Linked DNA regions of Homo sapiens: region 2 is linked to region 1. Evidence: promoter capture Hi-C in human tissues and cell types (Jung and others, 2019). All regions are on one chromosome and are shown on one strand. The core of a region is centred on a gene start or on the middle of the fragment in contact, and the rest is flanking DNA. Distances in the headings are between cores, read along the strand shown.

Region 1 (2,700 bases), core at 73-2,572:
CCATGGTGGTGGGTACCTGTAATCCCAGCTACTCGGGAGGTTGAGGCAGGAGAATCGTTGGAACCCGGGAGGCAGAGGTTGTGGTGAGCCGAGATCACGCCATTGTACTCTAGCCTGGGCAACAAGAGCGAAACTCCGTCTCAAAAAAAAAAAAAAGAACCAGTTACAACTGCTGGTGGGAGTATAAACTGAGATATTACTTTTTTTTTTTTTTTTTTTTAGACAGGGTTTCACCCTGTCACCCATGCTGGAGTCGAGTGGTGCAATCACAGCTCATTGCATTTTCAACCTCCTGGGCTCAAGCGATCCTCCTACCCCAGCCTCCCAAATAGCTGGGACTACAGGTGTTTACCACCATGCTCAGCTAACTTTTTTATTTTTTGTAGAGATGGGGTCTCACTGTGTTGCCTAATCTGGCCTCAAACTCCTGGGCTCAAGTGATCCTGTCACCTCAGCCTCCCAAAGTGTTGAGATTACAGGCGTGAGGCACTGTTCCCCACCTGAGATAATGACTTTGGGACACAGTTTAACACCTACTTATAAAGATGAACAAATTACATAATTTCTTTTTTTTTTCTTTGAGACAGAGTCTCACTCTGTTGCCCAGGCTGGAGTGCAGTGGCACAATCAGCTCACTGCAACCTCTGCAATTTTTATGTCTCAGCCTCCCAAGTAGCTGGGACTATAGGTGCCCACCACCATGCCCAGCTAATTTTTGTATTTTTAGTAGAAACGGGGTTTTACCATGTTGGCCACTCTGGTCTCAAACTCCTGACCTTAAGTGATCTGCCCCTCTCAGCCTCCCAAAGTGCTGGGATTACAGGTGTGAGCCACCATGCCAGGTCAAATTACATAATTTCTGACTCAGCAACTCCACTTCTCACTTATATACCCACGAGAAACTTGGGTAGCACATCGTGTAACTTTATGTAATTGTTGGCTGGGGGCAATGGCTCATGCCTGTAATCCCAGCACTTTGGGAGGCTGAGGCAGGCGGATCACCTGAGGTCAGGAGTTGGAGACCAGCCTGGCCAACATGGTGAAACCCCATCTCTACTAAAAATACAATAATTAGTCGGGCATGGTGGTGGGTGCCTGTAATCCCAGCTACTCGGGAGGCTGAGACAGGAGAATCGCTTGAACCCGGGAGGTGGAGGTTGCAGTGAGCCAAGATTGTGCCACTGCACTCCAGCCTGGGCAACAAGAGCGAAACTCAGTCTCAAAAATAAAATAAAATAAAATAAAATAATAGTAATTGTCAAGGTTCTAGTTTTTCTATTGGATGGATGGTTAGAAATGATGCTTAATTATCATTATTAAAAACAAATAAGTGGGAGCCATATATATAGGCCAATGAGGAGAGGATATCATGAACAACAAAATATTCTGTGTACCCCAAATTAATTAAAAACAGCAGTGACAACAATATATGCTTTACCACTTTCTAGTTGGGCAAGTTATCCCCGCTATATATAGGTTCCAGGAGGGCAGGGCCCATGTCTGATTTTTCACCAGTGCGAACCTGGTGCTTAACACACAGAAGGCAGTAAATAAATATTTGCCGAATAGATTAGATTAGCATAAGCTTGCTTGCTTTTTTTTTTTTTTTTTTGAGACAGAGTCTCTCACTCTGGAGTGCAGTGGTGCCATCTCAGCTCACTGCAACCTCCACCTCCTGGGTTCAAGCCTCCCAAATAGCTGGCATTACAGGTGCACGCCACCACACCTGTCTAATTTTTGTATTTTTAGTAGAGACAGGGTTTCACCACGTTGGCCAGGCTGATCTCGAACTCCTGGCCTCAAGTGATCCGCCTGCCGAGGCTTCCCAAAGTGCTGGGATTACAAGCCTGAGTCACTGCACCTGGCCAGATTAGCATAAGCTTTCTGAGTCTCAGTTTCCTCTGTATCAAATAAGATAATGTAGGTAAAGAGACTAGTACAGTGTCTGGCACAGAATAAAGCACTTAAAAACAGGAGCTACCTGCACCTGTAGTCCCAGCAAATCAGGAGGCTGAGGTAGGAGGATCGTTTGAGCTCAGGAGTCAGAGAGCAGCGTGGGCAATATGGCAAAACCCCTCCTGTACAAAAAATACAAAAATTAGCCAGGCACAATGGCACACACCTGTAGTCCCAGCTACTGGGGAGGCTGAGGTGGGAGGATGACTTGAGCCTGGGAGGTAGAGGTTGCAGTGGACTGAGATGGCACCACTGCACTCCAGCCTTGGTGACAGAGTCAGGCCCTGTCTCAAAAAAAATTGAAAATTTGGCTGGGTGCGGTGGCTTACACCTGTAATCCCAGCACTTTGGGAAGCTGAGGTGGGCGGATCATCTGAGGTTGGGAATTCAAGACCAGCCTAGCCAACATGGCAAAACCCCATCTCTACTAAAAATACACAAAAAAATTAGCCAGGCGTCATGGTGTTCACCTGTCATCCCAGCTACTTGGGAGGCTGAGGCAAGAGAATCACTTGAACCCAGGAAGTGGAGGCTGTGGTGAGCTGAGATCACACCACTGCACTCCAGCCTGGGAGACAGAGTGAGACTCCGTCTCAAAAAAAAAAATTATAATTAAAAAATTTAAAAAGTAAACAGAAGCCACTCAATGGGGTTTTATTAACAGGAATGGGTTATCTCTACCCACTAATCCTGTAGCCTCTTATAATAAGAGATGGAACAGCAAAGGGCAGTTAATTCAATCTC
Region 2 (2,700 bases), core at 149-2,648, 460 kb before region 1:
TTTGGCTGAGACTTTTTTTTTTTTAGGTTGAAGCTCGCTTTCTCTCTCTCTCCCTCTTTCTCCCTCTCTCTCTCTCTCTCACTCTCTCTCTCTCCATATATATATACATATATATATATATATATATTTTTTTTTTAACAACTGGTAGGATAGGTTGGGCATTAGCCTTCTTCAGTGATTTGATTGTATACAGATTGAAATCCTTTCCATTTCCAAACACTTAAGAGCCAAAGCCAACTTGCCAACTTTTCACTGTCGGTTCCCTTACCTTATATCTCTTGGTAATACCCCCCACCCCCGTTCCCTGATTCCTGGTAAAAGCTCTAGTTGGAGAGCCGAAAGGAAAGGAAATGATCTTTCAAAATTAAAGGTGAACACCTTCACTTAAACTGATTAAAATTGCAGCTCCACCGTCCGGCCTCTAGAGGGCAGTGTATGGATACATTTGTCCAGATTGGGGGACTAGGTTTGATAAATTTTGTCCTGCATCAAATGACAAAAGGGTAATAGGAAATGTATTATATTTATGCCCCTTACTTTGAGATAAGAGACTACAACCTTCATACTTCGGGGTGTTAAGCTGCCATTGCTCTTGTTAAGGGGCAGTTTGTTTTTTAAGAGATGGGGTCTTGCTCTGTTGTCCAGGCTGGAGTGCAGTGCCGCGATCTTGGCTCAGTGCAACCTCGAACTCCTGGGCTTAAGCGATCCTCCCGCCTCAGCCTCCCGAGTACTGGGACTACAGGCGTGTGCCACCAAGGGGCGATTATTATTTTTTTTTTCTACGCAAAATAAAAGACGGCTATTCAGTGTTGTTGTTTCATTTTTGTTTGGGGAGAAATTCGACTAGCCCAAGGAATCTCAAATTCTTGGAACCACTATTTTAGGCATTTCTGTTATCATTCCTGGAATACGAGAACTAAGCGATTGACTTTGCTTTCCCTAAAAGATAAACAGGGTAGTTGTAGTTGCAACAGAGTAGATAGAGGTAGGTCTACCCTGGGTTTAAAGTGGAGATCACAGCCGGGGAAAACCGGACTGGATCCCGAGGCCTCCTCCAGGGAGGGGCGGCAGGGGTGTCTCAAAATCTCCCACCTGTCAGCCCAACTTTTGGATTCCTTGTCACCTTCCACACTGCCCGAGCTCCGGACATACAGCCCTGGTGCACAAGGGTCCCATTCTTTGCACACCAGGGGTATAATGGACTCCGGACTGTTGGCGAGAGTGACAGCAAAAAGAGCCAGCCTCTTCTCCCAGGCTTCTTAGCAACCTGCCTGTCTCGGCTCCAGGAGGCGGGTTCCAGCCAATGGTTGAGCCACCCGCTTCCAGCCAATGGCTGAGGGATAAGCTGAGGGGAGTGAGAGGTCACTTACTGCAGCCGGACATAACGGCGCTGGCCCCGCCCCTTCTCGAGAACTCGCAGAGCTGGGCTGGTAAAATTGCAGTGCTGAAGACACTGGACCCGGTAAGGAGACTGGGGGTGGTAAAGAAGCTGGGGAGGAAGGGCTGCTGAGCTGGGCAGCGGAGGGGGCCTTGGTGTCCAGCTGTGCTCCGAACCTCAAGGGCAACAAAACTATCAGTACCTGCCTCCACTCCTTCTGTCTGGGTGCTCTTGAGATCGCGGGGTGTTGCCGCAAGACCCTTTTGTGCCTGGATGCCGGACGTATGTTCCTACCTAACGTGCCCATGGGGAGTGAGGGGTCATCACCTGCACCAACGGGTGGCATTTCTGTATTACAGCAAAAGGCTGTCCCTCCCAAACCTGGGATTCTGGGCTCACTGAGTTCACCTGCGAGTCAGCCCTACCTGCACTGCTCTGGTCTAGTACAAACAGGCTGCTGGCATTGAGGTAGGTGGCAGAGAGAGTAATGGTCCCATGGCCCAGGGGCAAGGTGAAGACTGCTCCTATTCCCATCTCTAGGTTTCCTTTCCTCCCTACCCACGACCCACCCACCCCAGCACATTGGTCTCCAGCATCTCATCAGCAGTTTAGACATTTGTCACCCCTCCTCACTTTGGCCCTGCTGGGTCAGTGCTCTCTGTTCAGCAATTTGAGGAAGAAACTTGCAGGGCAGAGAGCAGAAAAATTACCTTCCTTCTCCAGCCTGCCCCTGACACTCTGGCCATTAACTCCTCAATTTGCTGAGCTCACTACAGTGGCACAGAGAAGATTGAGGTGGTCCGGGACCCTAGGTTGGGGTCCAGTTCCCAGCTGGGTTCAATTTTTTTTAGGGTGAATGGAGGGAGAGTTGGGGACTGAAAAGCCTTCAAAGACAATGTTATTACAGCAGTCTCCCCTTATCCAAAGTTTCCTTTTCCTGAGTTTCAGTTAGCTATGGTCAACCGCTTGGAAAATAGTTGAACACAGTACAATAAGATATTTTGAGGCTGGGAGTGGTGGCTCATGCCTGTAATAATCCCAGGACTTTGTGAGACCAAGTTTGAAGGATCACTTGAACCCAGGAGTTTGAGACCAGCCTGGGCAACATAGTAAGACCTCATCTCTACAAAAAAAAAAAAAAAAAGACCATGCATGGTGGCACACGCCTGTGGTCCCCGCTACTCAGGAGGTTGAGGCAGGAGGATGGCTTGAGCCCAGAAGTTTGATGCTATAGTGAGCTGAGATCACGCCACTGCACTCCAGCCTGGGCAGAGCAAGACCCTGTCAGGGGCAGGGGGAGGGGAGGGGAAGCCGGACAGTGG

What was found. The method cuts DNA at HindIII sites, captures the fragments that hold promoters and counts their contacts. A contact is called where the count stands out against the background at its distance.
Region 2: a contact is called between the fragment with the promoter of SUOX here and a fragment that was not itself captured in region 1, in 1 of the 25 tissues and cell types used here (aorta).

What each region holds. Positions count from the first base shown.
Region 1 is chr12:56,456,497-56,459,196 of GRCh38, forward strand. It overlaps a transcript of MIP not described here. Among named protein-coding and RNA genes, the nearest start is that of MIP, 3.2 kb to the left of the region's middle. The HindIII fragment of the contact is 6,307 bases long and covers 1-2,700 here.
Region 2 is chr12:55,995,878-55,998,577 of GRCh38, forward strand. It overlaps SUOX (sulfite oxidase), which reads left to right and starts at 1,399. Exons shown (of 5, transcript NM_001032386.2): 1 at 1,399-1,462; 2 at 1,738-1,846. It overlaps RAB5B (RAB5B, member RAS oncogene family), which reads left to right. Exons shown (of 6, transcript NM_002868.4): 6 at 1-806. RefSeq lists an enhancer at 1,173-1,673 and a silencer at 1,259-1,448. The HindIII fragment of the contact is 9,188 bases long and covers 1-2,700 here.